4 separate regions of the Homo sapiens genome follow, and all the other regions are linked to region 1. The links are contacts of gene promoters, found by promoter capture Hi-C in blood cells and fetal thymus (Javierre and others, 2016). All regions are on one chromosome and are shown on one strand. The core of a region is centred on a gene start or on the middle of the fragment in contact, and the rest is flanking DNA. Distances in the headings are between cores, read along the strand shown.

What was found. Contacts are between HindIII fragments. The CHiCAGO score rates a contact against its expected background, and 5 or more counts as called.
Region 2: a contact is called between a fragment that was not itself captured here and the fragment with the promoter of MITF in region 1, in 1 of 17 cell types (monocytes). The highest score is 8.7, in monocytes.
Region 3: a contact is called between a fragment that was not itself captured here and the fragment with the promoter of MITF in region 1, in 1 of 17 cell types (monocytes). The highest score is 6.0, in monocytes.
Region 4: a contact is called between a fragment that was not itself captured here and the fragment with the promoter of MITF in region 1, in 1 of 17 cell types (erythroblasts). The highest score is 5.1, in erythroblasts.

Annotation. Positions count from the first base shown.
Region 1 is chr3:69,737,450-69,742,764 of GRCh38, forward strand. It overlaps MITF (melanocyte inducing transcription factor), which reads left to right and starts at 2,015. Exons shown (of 10, transcript NM_001354604.2): 1 at 2,015-2,252. The coding sequence starts at 2,149. RefSeq lists a promoter at 1-2,151 and a silencer at 1,951-2,250. The HindIII fragment of the contact is 10,451 bases long and covers 1-5,315 here.
Region 2 is chr3:69,207,148-69,212,479 of GRCh38, forward strand. The region is part of intron 11 of FRMD4B (FERM domain containing 4B); the gene reads right to left. Among named protein-coding and RNA genes, the nearest start is that of LMOD3, 87 kb to the left of the region's middle. The HindIII fragment of the contact is 526 bases long and covers 2,029-2,554 here.
Region 3 is chr3:69,106,441-69,112,198 of GRCh38, forward strand. It overlaps LMOD3 (leiomodin 3), which reads right to left. Exons shown (of 3, transcript NM_198271.5): 3 at 1-2,681. The coding sequence ends at 2,655. Among named protein-coding and RNA genes, the nearest start is that of LMOD3, 13 kb to the right of the region's middle. RefSeq lists an enhancer at 4,452-4,953. The HindIII fragment of the contact is 494 bases long and covers 1,340-1,833 here.
Region 4 is chr3:69,069,109-69,074,744 of GRCh38, forward strand. It overlaps UBA3 (ubiquitin like modifier activating enzyme 3), which reads right to left. Exons shown (of 18, transcript NM_003968.4): 5 at 2,427-2,509. Among named protein-coding and RNA genes, the nearest start is that of UBA3, 8.4 kb to the right of the region's middle. The HindIII fragment of the contact is 1,725 bases long and covers 1,166-2,890 here.

The sequences.
Region 1 (5,315 bases), core at 765-3,264:
GTTTTGTTTCTATCTGTATTTTCTGAGAAGAGGATCCGTAGCTTCCCTCAGATTAAAAAACTTCTGGTGAGCCCAAAGATTAGGCAGCTTCCCATGTTTCTCAATGGGGATACATACCACTGAAATTTGGACAAGAAAATTTGTTATTGTGCAATATGTGTAGTGTCTCTGGCCCATACCCCTTAAACGTCTGTAACATCCATAAGTTATTATGACAACCCCTCCTCCCATATTCCAAGCACTGATAATTGAGAGCCCAGATGAGATTAGAAGTCTAGACTGCATGTTTCCTTCATGTTTGATCTTTCTTCTTTCTCTCCCAGAGAACATGAAGGAAACACGTTTTCTTTGTTTGCTTTTGACAGCTAATTTCCAGCAGTCCATCTATTAAGGAATCTAGGATCCCACTTTTATGAGCACAAAACTCCCACTTTCCTTAGGGGTGTTCTCAGGTATTCTGACATAGTTTAATAGTTTCAGGGGAGGGCCTAAAAGTCGTATGTTGGGGACTAATTTTTATTCTGAAAATTTGGTAATTGCTACTGCAACATAGTGTGCCTTCTGCACTTTTTCCAAATCACCTTGAGAACTCCAGCCCTAACATCGATCCATCCTACTGGATGTCTTTTCTGATGTGAAATTAAAATGTTTCAGTGGGAGGCAAGATATGCAAAGGGGTAACTCCTGGGAGGTGCCCAGTTGTCACTGTAGCCTCTTTAGAATTTTCTCCTAGGACAGTCATTTAGTTTATTAATTCTGAAAGGCCAAACACCAAAATGAGATGTTAATCTGAAAGGAATAACTTCAAGACCTAATAAAGAATGACCACTGAGCAGAGTTTTTATAGATTGCAAATCACTTTCTCTTACATTTGACCTTGCAACATCTTCTAAAACTGGTTTGCCAATCTCTTCTTTTATGGATGAAGAAATGGAGGCTTCTAGGAACCAAGTGACATGCTCAGGATTGCACAGCTCTTCTTAGAAGGACTGGGGATTTCAACTCTGAGTCTTATACCTTTAAATGCCACTGTAACTCTATACTGCCTCCCTGATGCCTCAAAACACTTTTGAAAAGAAGGAACACGTCCTACTGGAGCTAATCAGAGGGAAGAACTAGAAGTACAAATGAGCCACAACGGAGAGTTTTAAAATTCTCTTCCCTAAGTGAGTTCCGGGAAGCTCGGGAAGGGGTGGACACTTGTACAGTTCACTTGTACATCTTCACTCCTGAAATGCTAGGACAAATCTCATTTGAACTCCCAGTCAACTGAGAAATTAAAAGCAGAGAGCAACGACGCTATTTTGTAACTTTGTGCCTTTTAAAATTAACCGAATCTTTCAATTGCTGCTGTAGATTAGAAGTGGCTACTTGGATAAAGGGGAAAGAGCCATTCAACTGATGAATACTATTGTAAAAGTCCAGACTTAGTTCTAGAAAAGGAACGCACAAGAACAATTTCTCCAATAACGTTTTCATTACAGAGCGAAGGAAAGTTCTTCCTCGTTGTTCCAATCCGAGGACAAGCTGATATGTCGCAGCAGCCCAGGGAAGCATGCGAGCTGATAGGAAGTCCTTTTATTTTAAGACAGGCTCGAATGCTAAAACTTTCTTGTGCCAAAACCCTTGACTATTTTATTTTTAAAATAAGCACTTGGCGTGCCCTCGCAGATGTCTGAGCTGAGAGGTCGGGGCGATGGTAGAAGAGCAGTCAGTGTCCATTCTTATTCATATTAAGTAGCCAAGTCTGTACCCTTGAAGCAAGTGGGGAGAGAGGAGGGAGAGGAGCTGCTGACATTGACAATGAATCCAAACAGGAGTTGCACTAGCGGTGTCCACCACGTTGCCTCTCCCCCGCCTGGCCTTCTGGGAGCTGTAGTTTTCGTGGGAGCGGCTCCCCAGGCGAGCTGGGAATGCCCCGCCCGGGCCGAACTACAGATCCCAGGCGGCGCTCGGCCGCCAGCCCCTCCCGCCCGGGTGCGAGTGTAAACTCCCCGCGCTGGGGCGGGCGGCCGCGAGCCGGCGAGCGGGCAGAGCTCGGCACTGCGCCGGGGCGCACGGCTCGGGGGACCCAGGCCCAGCTACCTTCCCTCCGCCCCCGGGCTCTGTTCTCACTTTCCAGCAGTGGAAGGACGGGAAGCGGGAGCCATGCAGTCCGAATCGGGGATCGTGCCGGATTTCGAAGTCGGGGAGGAGTTTCATGAAGAGCCCAAAACCTATTACGAACTCAAAAGTCAACCGCTGAAGAGCAGGTGAGTGGTGACAGCTGGGCAGAGGCGCACCGGGCGGCTGGGGGGCACTGCGTCTGCCACTCTGGGGCGAGGAGAGCGGGTCGCGGGAGCTCTGGGACAAGGACCCAGTGCCCTTGCCCCGGAGCAGAGGGCGAACTGCCCCTCGCAGTTGGGGGCCGCGCCTGCCCGGCCCAAGTGCGCCTTTAGGAAGCTCGGATGGAGCGCACTTCGCGGGGGCGCGGCGGGTCGCCGGGGACGAAGCGTCCAGGCGCGGGGACCCTCGGCCGAGGATGCCAGCTGCTGAGACTGATTGGGGGCTGGGGAGCGACCTGGCGCGATGTGGGGGAGGAGGAGCGCCGGGCCGGGACGCTGTCCCGGTGGGATGGGGGAGAAAGAGTTCTAGTGAACCCCCTTTCTGAAGATCCCAGCGGGTTGAGGGCTCGGAGAGGGAGAGCTTTGGGTGGACTGAGATGCGACATTGGAGGGAAGCAATTAGTTCGCTTGGAGTCACCTCTTGGGAGTCCGGTCTCTGTGGGGAAACTAGCCTCTGGGCTCCTGCAGGTGAGGTTTCTCTGGGCTCCGCCTCTCACCTCCAGACCGCTGCTAGCGGGCGCGGGAGGGGCCAGGGCAGCGGTGGGCGTGTCCCCTTGTTCAAGTTAAACTCTCTGGAAATAGAGTCCCATTCAAATCCAGGCCTTACCTGCAGAGGGGAAATGAGCCTTGGTCTTGGGGGTTACTGGGAGTGTACCCCGCTTGGCAGAGACACGTGTTTAATTCGCTGGGGACTTCAGAAACTTTTTAGACGAGGAGTGAAGACATCCACTGCTCTGATGCCCCATCCCCTCTAGTGCCCACTTCCCTTGAGCCACCCTTTTTGCTGCCTCCATTCCCACTTGTCTGTCGAAATGGATTGGGTGTCTTCCGTTCTCTCTGTCCGGCAGCCACTCTGGACGCCTCGTACTTCTCGTTTACAATGTTTCCTAAAAGGGACATGGTCAATGGAGGCTGGAATAGCTGAGAAGGGTTTATTTCCACCCCTCTAAGCTGTGAGCTAGGATAAGGCTATCATTGGAAGCATCCAGCAGGGCTTCTGCACTCGGCTGTAACTTCCTGCCTTGCCCTTCGCTGTGGATGGGGCCTGGGTGAATGGGCCTGGCTGGCAGAGTGGGAGAGGGTCTTGAAATGAGGGTGAGTGGAGAAGGGCAACTGAACGGGGAGCCAAGTGGTGTAATCTTGGCCTCTGGCGAGCACTGGGCTGGTTCTTTTTCTAGTGGAAAGTGCAGCCAGGTTTATTTCCTTCAGGGCTGTGGCAGGACTCTTTATCCAAGTTGGGGAAGAAAATCTGGGAACAGCGGTCCTACTGACTGCCATTGCTGAAGACTCTTTGTAGATGCTTCACGGCAGATTGGAAGGAAACCGCCTAAGCAGTTGGACGTATAAAACCAGCCTTTAGTTGGTGGTTTTTCCTCATAATGGCTGTTTTGTGTGTGAGCATAGATTGTGTGTGTTGGGGGCTGGGGGTTTTGAGTAATATTGTGTGAAGGGTATTGTTGGTTATGCTCATCAGGGCTTTATCTGCATTCGGCTGAAGGGACCAGTGTTTTACTGGGCAGTCTCTGCTTTTGCTTCTATAAGCAAATGCTTACACGGCCAGAATGAGGGAATGAGTGTGTGTGTGGAATCCTGAAAGAAATAAATTAACCGGACTGTTTGGAACATTTCTGATGGTAGCTGATACATAACATTAAATCAGTTTGAGAGAGCGAGGAAAATACCATCTGGAAAAACCCAAATGAGTGCCGTGAAACTCATGTTGCACGATTTGGGCCTGTTCTTTTTCAGAGTCAGCAAAAAAGACTTGTAAGGGTGAACGTCCTCAGTAGCTAGCTAGCAGGCACGTGTAAGGGAAAATGTGGGTATGTGGGAAGAAATGGCTTCACACGTTAATGCTAGAAACAGGTGTGGGCCTGAACCAGCAGGGAAAGGAAGGCTAAATTAAAAAAGTTGTTGTAAAACTTGTATATGGAGCACACACATGCTCTTTGAAATAAACCAGTTAAATAAAATCTGTGAATAAATATATGGAGTTGGCAACATTTCTCTATACTGTTTTCCACAGTTGTCTAAGGTATTGTCGTCGACATCTGTTGTGTGACTTAAAAGGGCTGCACATTGTTCAGGGCCTTCTCTCTCATTGCTTTTTGTCTTATGTTTTTGCTGGGGCACCTCACTTCTTACAAGTCTTTGTCGGAAAAAGTTGAAATTGATATGTGAAGACTGCTGTAGCCGTTCTGCCTATCAACTGTCTTCTCTGGATTGTCCAGAGTTGTTAGAGTTGAAAATATGTCCAGAATCTGCCCGCTTCTTACCACCTCCTCTGCTACCACTTTGGTCCAAGCCACCATCAGCCCTTGCCTGGATTATTGCAGTAGTCTTTTAAACTGCAATACCCACATTTAGTGAATTTTCAGTATAGTAGCCACAATGTTCCTGTTAAAACTGGTTCTCAGTTGGAGGTGATTTTGCCCCTGGGGTCATTTGACAGTGTCTGGAGACATTTGTGATTGTTACAGTGGAAGGGATCATTACCCATATCTAGTAGGTGGAGGCCAGAGATGCTGCTAAACATCTTACAGTGCACAGGACAGCCCCCACAACAAAGGATTATCTGGTCCCAAATTGTTAGTAGTGCTGAGGTCAAGCAACTCTGTGTTAAACCTCAAGTCAGATCCTGTCATTCTCTGCCCAGAACCTGCCCATGGCTCCTAATTTCTCCCAGTAAAATTCAAGGTTCTTAAGATGTCAGCTCTGACCTTATCTCTTGTTGCCTGCCTCCTACCTCCCTCTGCTACAGCCAGGCTGGTCTCCTCACTGTTTTTGGAATACCCCAGGCCCTTCCACCACTGGGCATTTTTATATTGCACTTGCCTTGATCATCCTTTGCCCAGACAGACCCAGTGCTCACTCCCCCACCAACCAGTATGTGCCTGCCTCCAGGAGTCTTAAGAACATTAAGTGTGACGTTGACTGTGGGAAAGTATTAGCATGGTGCCTGGCACGTAGTAAGTGCTCAGGAAATGTTAG
Region 2 (5,332 bases), core at 1,042-3,541, 530 kb before region 1:
TTAAAAAATTAGTGGGACACAATGGCACATGCCTATAGTCCTAGCTACTTGAGAGGCTAAGGTGGGAGGATTGCTTGAACTGAGGAGTTTGAGGCTGCAGTGAACTATCATTATGACTCTGCACTCCAGCCTGGGCAACAGAGTTAGAACCTATGTCTTTAAAAAAAAAAAAAAAAGAAAGAAAGAAAGAAAATAAATCTTTACTGTTTATGCCTCTTCATAGAACTATTTTTTACAGTGCTTTATGTACTAATTGCTTTTCTCTGCATTCAGACTAGTCAATCCTATTTATGAGCTATCTTTCATTTTTCTTCATGTGCCAACAGTTCAACCATGTGGTAAATGCTTAGACATGTAAAGGAATAGAAAAAACAATGGACAGTCAGGCACCGTGGCTCATGCCTGTAATCCCAGCACTTTGGGAGGCCGAGGCGGGTGGATCACGAGGTCAAGAGATCGAAACCATCTTGGCCAACATGGTGAAACCCCGTCTCTACTAAAAATACAAAAATTAGCTGGGCGTGGTGGGACATGCCTATACTCCCAGCTACTCGGGAGGCTGAGGCAGGAGAATCACTTGAACTTGGGAAGCAGAGGTTGCTGTGAGCCAAGATCGGGCCAATGCACTCCAGCCTGGTGACAGAGTGAGACTCCGTCTCAAAAAAAAAAAAAAGAAAAAACAATGGACATCTGATGGTTCTGCCTGTCTGGCAGCCACTTCCTTTTCTTCTAGCAGCATCTTCCATTTCTACACGGAACTCCGTAAGCTCCAGCTACAGTGGTGTGCAGTGGCGCCATCTTGGCTCACTGTAACTTCCGCTTCCTGGGTTCAAGCAATTCTCTTGCCTCAGCCTCCCAAGTAGCTGGGATTATGGGCACCCGCCACCATGTCTGGCTAATTTTTGTATTTTTATTTTTATTTTATTTATTTTTTTAGACAGAGTCTCACTCTGTCACCCAGGCTAGAGTGCAATGGTGTGATCCTGGCTCACTGCAACCTCCACCTCCCGGGTTCAAGCAATTCTCCTGCCTCAGCCTCCTGAGTAGCTGAGATTACAGGCACCCACCACCACACCCGGCTAATTTTTTGTATTTTAGTAGAGACGGGGTTTCACCATGTTGGCCAGGCTGGTTTCCAACTCCTCACCTCAGGTGATCTACCCACCTCGGCCTCCCAAAGTGCTGGGATTATAGGCATGAGCCACCACGCCTGGCCTAATTTTTGTATTTTTAGTAGAGATAGGGTTTCACCATGTTGGCCAGGCTGGTCTGGTACTCCAGACCTCAAGTGATCCGCCTACGTCGGCTTCCCAAAGTGCTGGGATTATAGGCTGAGCCACTGCAACCAGCCTTCTCCTGGGTTTCTAACATGCCTATCTCCTTCCCATCGGCATACCCTGTTCTTTGATGAGAACAAGCCATACTGTTCTTTATGAGCTTTCTGCCCTTCGGGTCTCAGGTTAAACATCACCTTCCTCAGAGAGGCTTTCCCTGAACACACCAAATGTCCCCTCCCTGCATCCCATTACTGTCCCCCATCTCATTTGTTTCCATCAAAGATAATTACAAATTTATGTCTTTATTTCTTTGCTTACTTGTTTCTCACCAACCATCCCTCCAAAGACTTCAAAGGAAACAAATACAGTGTGACAGAAACTACTGATCTCCCCTAGGATCTATTTTTCCTTATTTTTAGTAATAGAACATCTTGAGTTATGCCAGGCGCGGTGGCTCACACCTGTAATCCCAGCACTTTGGGAGGCTGAGGCAGGCGGATCAGGAGGTCAGGGGTTCGAGGCCAGCCTGGCCAACGTGGTGAAACCCCATCTCTACTACAAATACAAAAATTAGCTGGGCGTGGTGGCGTGCGCCTGTAGTCCCAGCTACTCAGGAGGGTGAGGCAGAAGAATGGCTCGAACCTGGGAGGTGGAGGTTGCAGTGAGCCAAGATCACGCCACTGCACTCCAGCCTGGGCAACAGAGCGAGAATCCATCTCAAAAAAAAAAAAAAAAGAACATCTTGAGTTAAAGCTTTGCCCAGGGCCACCCACCTAGAGACAATACCACCCAGCTGCCCTTGCACTCAGAGTTGGTACTTTCCAAATGACAGAGGAGCCTGCCTAGGCCTCCCTCTTTCCATCTTCTTCACCAATACCTAACCAATTTTCTAAAAGTTCCATGTTTTACGAGAACTGCTTAAAATTCTAATTGCGATCAACTATGGGAGGGGAAGAGAAAGACCATGCTGTACAATACACTTTCTATAAATTAAAGTATGGTGTGGAGGGGAAAATAACCCACTCAGTGAAATAACTCACTAACTCATTGGGTCCTCACAATGATCTGTGAGGTGGACAGCAGACAAGAGTTATCTCAATTTGATAGCTGAAAAAAATGAAGGCCCAGAAAGTTGAGTGACAGCTCTGAGTCAGCCAGCTGGTAAGTGGAAATGCAGAACTGGTTCTTATTTCAAATCCATGCTGTAGGATGGGAGTTCTCCTCCCACTGACTCTGCAGAAGGTTTTAACAATCAGATTGATTACTGGTGTGGTTAAAGCTTAGATACACACTTTATAAACAGGATGGACCAGTCTCTGGTTGACATTCTAAAATCCAATTATTTTCTTCCATACCATGCTTTATTTGGCATTAATGTAGAAAGAGAACAACCCATGTTCTCTTCTCCTACAGTTAATCTCATCTAGAATTTCAGCAGTGTCAGAAGTAGCTTCTAATCTAGGTCCAAGGTGGTATGGTCATGGTGGAAAGAAGAGCTTAGAAATGCTCAAGATAGCTGTGCTTAAAGAAATAACCAAGTCACTGTCTTTAAATAAAATAACCTTGTAGTTGTATGAGAAGAAAACAGGAAGACTTTTGTGCTTGTTACTTAATTCATTTGGCTTTAGGGATTTGGGAATTCCAATATATATAGAGACAGAAACAGAAAGCTAAGAGACTTTTCCCACCTTCACATGCCCTGTGGTGATGAAGTTCACCTCAAGTCTTTCTTGGCATGATATAAGGCAAAAAGATACTTATCTTGAGAAGCATTTTGTCCCACTATGGACACCTCGACAGTATGTCATTTTATCTCTGCCATCTGACAGGCTCTGGTTTTCCAGGGGAAGTATTTGCCGAAGGGATACAAATCTGTCATGACATAGACTAATACTTGGCTCAGTCTCTGACCCACTGTCTGCTTCTTTATGAAGAACAGACATTTTTCCTTGAAATACTGAACAATAAATACTTAGAAGGAACACAAGGCTGCTTTTTTTTTTTTCTTTAAGTGAAACTTCATCAGTCTCTAAGTCCAAATGTCTTACCATTTGGAATTCAGTTGAGTTCTGGTACGTTTTCACATTCTCTAAGAGTTTGCAATGACATATTCATACACAAAGGGAGGATTAAAAAGTAAAGCTGCTTATTGTCTTAATTTTTAATACCCTGAATGTTTGTGGTTTGTAATTTTGGATTAAAAATTTTTCCTTTAATTTGCGTCACACCTTCAGGCATGATGCTTAATGAATTAGGAGGTGAAAGAAGTGCTCACACATCTCCGAAAACAGAAAATTTGAGGGTGGAGGCCGGGTGTAGTGGCACACATCTCTATTCCCAGAACTTTGGGAGGCTCAGGCAGGTGGATCACCTGAGGTCAGGAGTTCGAGACCAGCCTGACCAACATGGTGAAACTCCATCTCTGCTAAAAATACAAAATTAGCCAGGCATGGTGGCGCATGCCTGTAATCCCAGCTACTTGGGAGGCTGAGGCAGGAGAATTCCTTGAACCCGGGAAGCAGGGGTTGCAGTGAGCTGAGCTGAGCTCGTGCCATTGCACTCCACCCGGGGCAACAAGAGTGAGTGAAATGCCATCTCGAAAAAAAAAAAAAAAAAGAAAGAAAATTTGAGAGTGGATTCTTAGTACACTAAAGCTGTGGGCTTGTAGCAATGTTGTGTCCCTCTCTAACCAGTGATCCAAGAATATTTCCCATACTCTTTTATTGTCTGTCTTCTCACTACTACTAATGATGATGGCGTATCAGCTATGGTGCTAAATTTGTCCTCTAGGTCTTACAACCACCCTACACAGTTGGTGGCAATACCCTTGTGCAGATGAGAAAACCACTTTTAAAGAGAGATTAAACAACATGCTCAAGGTGGCACAGTAAATAGACACCAGGGGCAGAGGTTGGGATGTCTCCCAAACTCTTTCCCTGCATCACTGTACTACACTACACACTGGTTGAAAACAACTTGTTGGCACCCCAGACTGGCAAAAAAAAGCCATATAAATAAAAGACTTGAAGAGCATCTGCTGGATGCCCTGGGAGGTCAAACAAATACCTCCCTGCCCTTAACATTCACAGGTGATAACTGATACAGAAAGGTCTGAAGGTCACTGCTGGGAGATCTTGGAACAACTCCTTTTCAAAACAGCCTTTCGGCATCAGTTTTCTTATTCTTAGTACTTATTCTCAGTAAATTTCCCTTCTTCTGGCCTGCTTTTAAGCCACATAATTGTAACAAGACGGGATGTGGCTCAAGAGGCTGAGCACCTTAAGGCCTCTCATTATAGCCTTTGTTTCATTACAGTTTGCCAATTTGACCTTCATTCCTGCTGGTCCATTGGTAAACTTGCAGCCTGCACAGGTCCACACAAACAGCTGAAGCATGATCCTCCTTTAATAGAAGGCTGTGCTCATGGTCCTTTAAATTATGCATTCTTTCATTTGTGCAAACTAGGCCAGGAGAGGGACTTGTAAAACAGCCTCAATCCTTACATTGTCTGGACATAAAAAATAAATATATGGAAGCAAAATCCATTGTCAGATTTTAACAAAAGAAGAAAGGAAGAAATAAACAATGGCACAGAGTAGACACCCCCCAAAAAAAAAAACGGAGAAAGAGAAGGCAAGAAAGTGATAACATGGGCCGGGCATGGTGGCTCACGCCTGTATTCCCAGCACTTTGGGAGGCCCGAGGCAGGTGGATTGCCTGAGGTCAGGAGTTCGAGACCAGCTTGGCCAGCATGGTGAAAACCTGTCTCTACTAAAAATACAAAAATTAGCCAGGCATGGTGGCAGGCACCTGTAATCCCAGCTTCTCGGGAGGCTGAGGTAGGAGAATCACTTGAACCCAGGAGGTGGAGGTTGCAGTGAGCCAAGATCGTGCCATTGCACTCCAGCCTGGGCAACAGAGCGAAACCCCGTCTCAAAAAAAAAAAAAAAAAAAAAGAAAAAAAAAAAGAAAAAAAAGAAAAAAAGCGATAACAAAAGATGGACTGTGTAGGGTCTTTTTAAAAATGGAGTGGCATGTTTTGGAACTGAAATAAA
Region 3 (5,758 bases), core at 337-2,836, 630 kb before region 1:
TAAATTATGATTACATTTAAAAACAAGCTAAAATCTGCAACTAAGATCTTTAGGGTTGGGTGGTAGAAAAAGCATAATGTGAACTGCTTCACCTCTTTTGGCAAAACCTGTGTATTGAGGCCATAAGCTATGAAATTGGATCATCTTTTCTTCTTGTATATCTAAGATAAAAACCCTCTTACTGTGCATTTTGAAATTCCTGACTTTAATAATACTGTGGCTATACAAACAAATGCATAGGGGCTTTCTAGAATTTTTTTTTTTTTTTTGAGATGAGGTTTCGCTCTTGTTGCCCAGGCTGGAGTGCAATGGTGCAATCTCAGCTCACTGCAACCTCCACCTCCCATGTTCAGGTGATTCTCCTGCCTCCCAAGTAGCTGGGATTACAGGCATGAGCTACCATGCCTGGCTAATTTTGTATTTTTTTTTTTTTTTTTTTTTTTTTTTAGTAGAAATGGGGTTTCACCATGTTGGTCAGGCTGGTCTTGAACTCCTGACCTCATGTGATTCACCCACCTCGGCCGCCTACAGTGCTGGGATTACAGGCATGAGCCACCGCACCGGCCTAGAATTTCAACTACTAATTTACATTAAGCTTTTAATTATGTTTAAAGTGCTTTTCCTATCAGAGTTTAGCCTCTTAGATGTAGTATGTGCTAGACACTTGAAGTTTTGTTTGTTACAGCCCTTTCTTAGCTATCCTGCTTTGTATGCAAGGATGTTTTCTAGAAATATTGAAGGGTGAGAAAACAAAACTATCAGCCATTGAAAACTATATTTAAATTTGGATACTTTTGTACATACTAAATTATCTTAAAAAAATAGAAACGCCATATTTCTTTCCCATGGCTTGTCTTTCCAAATAATGTGTTGTTTTTAAGTCTGTCACAATTAGACCTATTCTCCCCTAGCCTGTTTGGTTTGATACATGCCACTTATGATAACATAAAAGGAGAAAGAAGGCAGGTGCCAATTATTTACTCAGGTAAAGAAGAGAGAAAAGGCACCAAAGGTTTTTTTTTTTTTTTTTTTTTTTTTTTTTTTTTTTTTTTTTGAGATGGAGTATCACTCTGTCACCCAGGCTGGAGTACAGTGACGTGATCTTGTCTCACTGCAACCTCTGCCTCCCCAGTTCAAGCAATTCTCCTGCCTCAGCCTCCCGAGTAGCTGGGATTACAGGTGCCTGCCATCATGCCCAGCTAATTTTTGTATTTTTAATAGAGACGGGGTTTCACCATGTTGGCCAGGCTGGTCTCGAACTCCTGACCTCTGGAGATCCTCCCTCCCTGGCCTCCCATAGTGCTGGGATTACAGGCATGAGCCACCGCACCTGGCCCAAAGCTTGATTTTCTAATTTCTAGGGTTCACACTACTTCTATTATTACAAAAATCTCAAATTCTATGCACCTAGTGGCTAGAATGAATAATTAAGGCCTCTAGGAACTTGGAAGAAGGACAGATTGGAGTTGTCTGGAAAATTTTTTATGGAGGACACAGGATCTGACCCGGGAGTTGAAGACTGGGTAGGACGTTCATTAATGGAGAACAGGAGGGAAGTCTCTTGGAAGGATTAATGCGAGCAAAGGCACAAGGGTGTGCACAAGGATGTTTCATCGAGTAGAGTATAAAGGATTTGTGGGAAATAAGACAGGATTAGTAAATTGGGGCCAGGCAATGGAGTGCCTTAAAGAATAGGATAAGTAGTTCAAGTTTAATCCTTCCTGTAAGCAAGTTTCCTTTAAAATATGTTTGAGAGTGATAAAATCAAATTAGACTTACAGAGTAAACACATATGAGCGTGTGTGTGTGTGTGTGTATTTAGCCAAAACCAAAAGCTTGTCAATAACTATATTATGTAAAACTTCTTTTCTATAAAAACAGCATGCTGTCTCCCATTGTCCCTCTATATATGAAAACTTGCTGCCAGGAAGTTTTCATATATGCAGGGTTTACTTTCCCATTACTTTTCCTAGTGACACTTAGTTTTCACCATGTTCTGTGGCTTACGTGTTCTGCCCCTCACAGGTACCCCTATAGAAAGAATACTCCAAAACACCAAGGGAGTCACCAAGAGAGAAAGCCAGGCAGGGTGGGAAACTGAAAATCTCCACTGATTCTGCAGAGAAGCTCTAAGGAACAATCCTTCCATTTCAAAGCATCAGAAGGGCCAGGAGCTCAATTCATCCTTCACATTTCCATAGGATGAAACATTATTTGTTCCCTTTAAGATACTATGTGATGAATTACCGCAGAAGAGATGGAAGGAGAAAAAAATGGGAATACAATAGTTAACACTTCTGTTATATTTATTATTTACCAGAAGAAAACAATAATAAAGCAAATGTTTAAAAAATTTTCTTTAACTTCTGCTTCGGGAAATATGACTCTAAATTTCACCTGAGTCACTCAAATTGATTGCAAGTAGAAAATATTGCCTCTAAATATTATATTTTATCTCCTTCCACCTTCCTCTTCAGCCCCTACTTCTTCATGGCCCAAACATTCTGCCTTTTACAAATACCCTTATCAGATGGTAGCATTGTTTCCAGTTCTGCCACGTGGATCCTAAAGTATTGCTGCTGACATAGTCTCCATGCTGTAATCCAAGAGTCACTATTTCCATTTCTTGTTCTTCTAGATGGCTCTGTTGCCTCTTACGCCAGTTCTTTTGGCAGTTGCACCTGCGATTTAAGCATTTGAGGAAACGGGGGAAATTAATCCTGGAAATTTAAGAGCTTTGCAGCAAAATTTACAAAATTTACATGCCTTAAAAGATACAGAATAGGTTTGAAATTCTGGCCAAAGCACCTCCAAAATCAAGATAAAACAACAATCATAACCACAGCCACCATTTATTAGACATTTACTAATGCCAGGGACTGTTCCAAGAGCTTTGAGCACATGGCAAAGTAACATCATGGAAATAAGAGGGCGGGTGCCTAAGTTGGCCTGGGTTCAAAGACTGGCACTAGCATGTAGTAGTTATGTGGTGTTGGGCATCAGTTTTCTCAGCTGTAAAATGATAATAACAGTATCTAATTCACAAGGCTATTATACAAGTGAGTAATCCATGTTAACACTTTTTTTTTTTTTTTTTTTTTTTTTGAGATGGAGTCTCAGTCTATCTTCCAGGCTGGAGTGCAGTGACACCATCTTGGCTCACTGCAACCTCCAACTCCCGGGTTCAAGCGATTCTCCTGCCTCAGCCTCCCAAGTAGCTTGGATTACAGGCATGTGCCACCAATGCCCAGCTAATTTTTGTATTTTTAGTAGAGACAGGGTTTCACCATGTTGGCCTGGCTGGTCTCAAACTCCTGGCCTCAAGTGATTCACTTGCTTCGGACTCTCAAAGTGCTGAGATTACAGGCATGAGCACCCGGCCTAACACTTATTTTTAAAACAGTATCTCATTACATCCTACAAAAGCCTTGTAGGGAGAGAAATGGCTCAGAGAAGACAATAACTTGCCTAAGATCATACAGCTAGGAAGTGGCAGAGCAGGATTTGAACCAGGTCTGCCTGATTTCAGTGCTCATTATTATACACTGCCTGTAAAAATATCACTATAAGAATATAAAATATATGTTCTTTTTAAAACATGTCTTTCCTCTTTGAAGCACACTCCTAATCTGATGGTCAGAAATATTTAAACATGAAATATAAGCCAGGCAAGGGGGCATGCACCTGTAATCCTGGCTACTCAGGAGATTGAGATGGGAGAATCACTTGTGGCCAGGAGTTCGAGACCAGCTTGAACAACAAAGTGAGACCCATCTCACCTTGTTAGGATTTTTATTTTATTTTTTTTAGACAAAGTCTTACTCTGTCACCCAGGCTGGAGTGGAGTGGCATGATCCCGGCTCAAGACAACCTCTGCCTCCCAGGTTCAAGCGATTCTCCTGCCTCAGACTCCCAAGTAGCTGGGACTACAGGTGCATGCCACCACGCCCAGCTAATTTTTGTATTTTTAGTAGAGACGGGGTTTCACCATGTCGGCCAGGCTTGTCGTGAACTCCTGACCTCAGGTGCTCCACCCACCTTGGCCTCCCAGAGTGCTGGGATTACAGGTGTGAGCCACCGCACCCAGCCACCTGATTTTCTTAAAAGAGTTTTATAACAAGGCTGGGCGCGGTGGCTGACGCCTGTAATTCCAGCACTTTGGGAGGCCGAGGTGGGCGGTTCTCCTGAGGTCAGGAGTTCAAGACAAGCCTGGCCAACAGGGTGAAACCCTGTCTTTACTAAAAATACAAAAATTAGCTGGGCGTGGTGGCACGTGCCTGTAATCCCAGCTACTCAGGGAGCTGAGGCAGGAGAATTGCTTGAACCCGGGAGGCAGAGGTTGCCTTGAGCTGGGATCCCACCACTGCACTCCAGCCTGGGCAACAGAGACACCATCTCAAAAAAAAAAAAAAAATATATATATATATATATATATATTTAAAGCATCCCCCAAGACAAAAAAAAATTATAAAACAACAACAGAAGTCCAACACTGCAAACCCACTTCATACTTCTGCCTCATAGGAAAACCTTAAGGACAAAGCAAGTTTTTAAAGGGTTTCAAGTGTCATTGTATCTTAGGAAAGTAACTCATCAACTCATCCATCATGTATGTACCTTCCAGAGGACACTGAAGATGCCCAGTGTCCCCAGGGCATTTGTATAACAATGACTAGGAATGTTTCTCCCTGTATTGCTAATGTCCACCTGCCAGTGTGATGAACCATTTTGGTCATCTGCTCTGGCTCCTCTTGCAGCCAGTTCTCAGCCCACGATCTTTGGCTAGGAATGTTTTTCCAATATTCTGCCCACCAGAGAGGACCTTTGATGTGCTGCTGCCTGCCAGCCTTCAAGCCAAGGGGACTTCCATGGCTTCTGACCCTCTACCTCCCTTGTGCCAAACTTTGAGAAGAGAGGGGTATGACTGCACCCTGCAGGGCTCTCCCATGGAGAACACCAGTAGTTAAGAGAAACCATGAGCCAGGTATTTAAAATAACTGTAAAGCTGCAATAAATAGTTAAAACACTGTGTTCTTTGTATTATGGAATGGAAAAAGAAGCATTTTATATAAGTTATTCCCTGTATTTGTTTATATATGCATGGAAGAGTTCCAAAATAATATTTTAAATTTAAAAATTTTTTAATTATTTAGAGAGATGAGGATCTCACTGTCACCCAGGCTGGAGCGCAGTGGTGCAATGATAACTCAAAGCAGCCAGGCCCTCCTGGACTCAAGTGATCCTCTTGCCTTGGCCTCCCAAAGTACTGGTATTACAGGTGTGAGCCACCATGCCCAGCCCAGAATAATATTTTAAAAAGAAAATGTGGCACTGACCCAGAATAGTAAACCCAGACACATATTTACTTTAAAGTATGACCAAGCTGGTAGTTCAGATCACTGGGGAAAAGAGGAATCAGTCACTAAATGATCACTGGTTAACTATTTGGAAAAGAAATAATGAAATAGCCTTCTTGCTTTCTACTGACTTTAAAAATTAACCCTTTAATCTATCCATAATATCAAATATTTTTTAAAAACCAAAAACTATAAAAGTTGCAAGAAAAGGCAGGCACACATTTTAATCATTTTCAAAGAGGCCATTTCTAAGCAGAATACAAAAGGTAGAAATCATAAAAATAGCTAGATATGATGTCATAAAAATGTAAAACTTACAAACAGAAGAAAATCAACTTGTGTTATTGGTAGGGAGCCTTTTTCCCCTTTGCTTGTTAGTTTTCAAAGAAAGTATGTCTAGT
Region 4 (5,636 bases), core at 778-3,277, 670 kb before region 1:
TATTACTTTTTTCGTAACATATTTGCTACATACACGTCTATCATACCCACTAGACTATTATTTGGATGAAAGTGACCATGTTCTTACTCTCTTCATATTCCTTCCTACCTAGCACACAGTAAATACTTTTAAAATAAATGAAAATAATAAATCGTGTGCTTATTAGAAAAAAATCTGAAATTTCAAAGAAAAACACTTTAGCATGTCAATTTTTCTTTTCTTTTTTTTTGTTTGTTTGAGACAGAGTCTCGCTCTGTCACCCACGCTGGAGTGCAGTGGCACAATCTCGGCTCACTATAACCTCTGCCTCCCAGATTCAAACAATTCTCCTGTCTCAGCCTCCAGAGTGCTGGGACTACGGGCATGAGTCACTACGCCTGGCTAATTTTTGTATTTTTAGTAGACACAGGGTTTCACCGTGTTGGCCGGGCTGGTCTCGAACTTCTGACCTCAAGTGATCCGCCCACCTTAGCCTCCCAATGTGCTGTGATTACAGGCATGAGCCACCATGCCAGGCCAATTTTTTTTCTCTCCAATAAAGCACTGTTCTTTTTTGATTCAAAACTTTTGGTAAATGTTTTATCTTCACTTTGTACTAACTTACATAAAAAAGGCCCTGTTATAAATCAAAGAACTTAATTTCAGTATTGCATTCAATGGCTCCACACACAGAAAGCTCTTTTGGTTTGTAAAAGGGATAAAGTAGACTTCTAAGATTATTTTAAGTAATATATTCTATGTGCTTTTATGGCACGGCCCAAACAAAAGAACTCCTAGATGGTTTCTGGGAACTGTTTGTTAATTTACCATTCCAGGATGAAACAATCAGATTGCTCCACCTCAATAAAATGGCCTTTCACACACATCATCCTTGCAGGACACTCTGCCCAAATTATTTAACCTTGAACACAAGAACCTACCCTGAGGTTGCTGAGATTAAATGGAATAATATGGATAGTTTAGAAGTACTTGCTACATATCGTTATTACCATCTTCAACCATTTTAGCCACAAATTAAAGGGTATGGCCTGTATCAATAACAAATCAATTCAGTGGTATCTTTTTCAGAGAATTCACAACTCAAAATTTGACAAGCTGGACAGAGCCCACAAACTTTGCTATAGAGAAGGGAAATTTCAAAGGTTAAAAAATAAACAAAAAATAAAGCTTAAAAGTTAAACATTAAGGGTCACACTGCAATTACAACACTTCATTAACTTATTTTAATCCATACTTCAGTCCCATTAAGATCTTCCACAAAGATAATGTAGAGGTTTTATGCCTATCCAAAAACTTAATGTTACCTTTTTTGCTAGCTCAACTTTATCCTATATACCCAGAACAATTTGAGCACTGTCAGTAACAGATGCAAACTTCCTAAATAGAGAGAGAAAAAAAAAGTCCTTATCTCTGTGTATCTTTGACTAACAAATATACACTTTTACCTAAACTACTCAAACCCCTCAATATTACATACTAAATTCATGAATGAACATTTCTTCATGTCTGGATACATGGTCTACTTCAGTTTTTGTTTTTTGGGTTGTTTTGTTTTTGTTTTTGAGACAGGGTCTCGCTCTGTTGCCCAGGCTGGAGTACAGTGGCATGAACACAGTTCACTGCAGCCTCCAGATCCTGAGCTCAAACGATCCTCCTACCTCAGCTTCCCATGCAGCAGGGACCACAGGTGCACACCCGGCTAATTTTTTAATTTTTTTGTAGAGACGAAATCTCCCTTTGTTGCCCAGGCTGGTCTGGATCTCCTGGGCTCAAGCAATCTTCTCACCTCAGCCTCCCAGTGTTGGGATTACAGGTGTAAGCCACCATGCCTGGCCTCTACTTCTCTTCTTAAACTCATCTTTAACAAATCACTCCTTGATGTTCTCTATATTCCATATATGCCTAAGGTAACCATCCCTCTTTGTTCCATTCCAATTGGTTCTGGTTTTTCTCTCCTCGACTTTCCATTTTCTTTCCCCTTGTAGGAAAAGCTCAAACTCTTTCCCAACTTTATTGCTCCAGTCACCATTCAAACCTTGGCTCACAAATCCCTGCCAATCTCTCACTAGGGCCTAATACTCCAGCGAGTATTCTCTTCTGACATCAACTGGAGGAAGAGCTACCGTTCTTTCCTTTCTTCAGAGCACAGTTAACCTGAGGATATTCCCAAAAATCACATAAACCTTTGGAAGGAGACTTCTTCGAAAAAACAAAAACATGTATTTGTTTACATAACTACTATCACCAAGATGCCCAAAATTTTCTTACAAAACTTTACCTACAATGGGAATGGTAGTTTTTGTTTTTTAAAATAAAATTAGTATTATCCTCTCAAGTCATTTTTAAAAATTATTAAACTGCAATGTACAAGTTCAAATGATTATCAGAGCTTAAAAAAAGAAAACCGCTAAGATATTAAAACTTACCTAAATAAAAACTGCCTATTTAGATTGGAAACATCTATAGTGTCCATATCTATAACATGAATCTGTCTAAAACCAGACAAGGCCTGTGGGAATAAAAACAATCCAATTAAGCAGAAGTTTCCTCACATTTAAAAACGTAACATTTGTTTTCAATGTAGTCTTAAGTCTACAAATTCTCAGTAATAAATTCTGTGTAATTTGTATTCAATGGCTGAAAGACTCTTGCAAGGTATATAAAATTCAGAGTTCTTGAACAGGTCAAAAGTGTACAATCACTCAGTTTCAAATAATCTATAACCAAAAGAGAACAACTCAAAATTTCTACGGATTGAAACTATTTTACATATATATATAATTCCATAAACACATTTGTAAAATTTGTTGCTTTGCTGCTATTGATGGATACTTTAATTTTACTATGCTTGCTATTATTTTTTCAAAATATTGTTAAAAGCAATTCTACAAGCTTTATTTTAGTTTACTTAATATTAAGCATGCCACAATTCAGAAATGGTAACTATTATAAGACATATATTATAAAAACACACACATGGGTAGGCTGTATTTGTAAAAGGAGTATCTTAAAAGATATTGAATCAAGAGCATGCAATTTAAAAAGCAGGGAAAGGCAAAAAACAAAAAACCTGTTAGGTTTCCATAATAATGCCATGCATTCTGAACAGTACAACCACATTCAAATTTAGCAGCAGATGCAAAAAACTGAAAAAAATAAGTCTCAATAACTAACTTTTCTGGTCTTGGTCAGTTTACTTCGATGATCAAATAACTTGACAATAATTTCCTCATTTTTCTGTCCCCCTATATACCAAGAGATCTTCAAGACTTATCCATATTTGTGCTTTCAAAGTCCTGACTGTTCTCAAACTCCACAGAAACTGTACTTGTCAAGTTCACCAATAACCTCCGTGTTGCTAACTCCAATGACCAATTCTCAATCTATCTGACCTTACCTTTCTGAGGTATTAGGCTGGGTGGGTCACTTCCTCCACCCTAAAACATGTTCTTCAGTTGGTCACCACACTCATGAGAATTTAAACACTTTTTAAAAATTGGTTTCCAGTTCATTCAGTTTTCTTCCTACTTTACTGGCCAGAATTCGGAGTAGCCTTGTGCTTTGTTCTGGTGATCTCAGACCATCTTGTAAGATATAGACCATCTAGCAGACATCTCAGACTTAACAGTTTCCAAAACCAAACTTGATCACCCTTGCTCACAACAACCAAATCTGTTCTTTTCCAGATCTTCCTCATTGCAGTAACTTCCTCATTGCAGTAACTCCATCTTTCCAGGTGCCCGCCCCTAGAGCAAAAACCTTGTTGTATCATCCTCGATTCCTTTCTCTCACAGCACACCACCAATCCATCAGCTAATCCTGTTGATTCCATCTTCAAAATATATCCATAATCTGACCACCTGTCACCACATCCAATGCTACCATCCTGTTTCAAGTCACGTTGTCTCTTGTCTAGAGGACTATAATAATCTAATTAGTCTCTCTGTTTCTTCCCCCTCTCTGCTCTTCCCTTAGTCTATTCTCAATGCATCAGCCTCAGTAACCTAGGTGAAAAGCCAATCAAGTCTCTCATTGCATAAATCTCTCCAATGACTTCATGACTCAGAGTAAAAGCGACAGCACTTACAGTAACCTCCAAAGTCTTTTGTGATATCCACTCCAAGCCCCTCCATCTCCCATTATCTGTCTGATATGGTCTCCAAAAATGCTCCCCCAACCCACTTCTGCTCTAGCGATGATAGCCTCCTTGCAGTCCTTGAACAAACAGGAGTGCTCCACTTCACAGCTTTGTACCTGTTATTCTCTCTAACTAGAATATTCTTCCTACAGATAACTGTATGGCTCATTTGCTCACCTTTGTACTCAATAGCACCTTTTTGTAAACCTTTTCCCTTCACACCATTTGACATACTATATACTTACTTTTTCATTCAACTAAAATGTGAGTCCCACCAATGCAAACACCTTTCTGTATTTGTTCAATGCTGTATCTTCAGCATCTAAAATGGTGCTTGGCATATGGGATGGAGGCTCAATAAATATTTGCTCAATCAGTAATATTAGTATCTTTTTTTTTTTTTTTTTGAGACGGAGTCTCGCTCTGTTGCCCAGGCTGGAGTGCAGTGGTGTGATCTCGGCTCACTGCAAGCTCTGCCTCCCGGGTTCACGCCACTCTCTCGCCTCAGCCTCCCGAGTAGCTGGGACTACAGGCACCTGCCACCACGCCCGGCTAATTTTTTGTTTTCTGTATTTTTTAGTAGAGACGGGGTTTCACTGTGTTAGTCAGGATAGTCTCGATCTCCTGACCTTGTGATCCGCCTGCCTCGGCCTCCCAAAGTGCTGGGATTACAGGTGTGAGCCACCATGCCCAGTCTAGTATCATATTCTTTTTTGTTAGAATGAGCCTTTAGGGGGCTTACAATGAATTAAATAAGCAAAACAAGGAGTAAAATTGAAAACCCTTAGTTTTCTTCTTTTGTGTAAAAGATTACTATAATGCAATAAAGAAGAGGTCACTCCTTAAAGTTGCTTGGTGACTAATCTTCAGATCTAATCTTCAATTATTTTACACTTAAAATTAGTAAATGTCACATTTGCAAATAATGGCTTCAAAATTTAATAAGCTTTAGGAAACTTGTACATTTATAATACCTAACAAAAACCAATGCCCATCCTCCATAAACCCTTTCCTTCTCTAAGTCTTTGGTTCTCACACTGCTAGAGTATTTATGTTTGATACGGTACTGTCATTTTGGCATTCCACCACAGAGTATATCATGCATACTGCTATTTATTTCATGTGAGATTTATCTCCCCAATGAAACTTCAGATTGATTGAAGACAGAGACCACGATGACATATAATCCCCACAGAACCCAGCAAGACATTAAATACAGTGAAGTATATTTAAGTTTTTACAACTTCACTCAAGCGACATTAGTGTTTCTTAACAAAATTAATGTGGCTATGTTTATATTTAAACTTTAACCCCCTTGGCCAATTATTTGGGTCCTCCATCTGGCTGTGACCTGCTTTATTTTCTAAAGAGTCTATTCCAGCATTTCCACTTTTCTACACAGCAGTGAGAAGCCTAGCATACAACTCTAAACCAATTCTGCCTCTACTCATTTGTTACATAAACTCATTAAAATTTATAGAAAGCGACTTTGTGATTA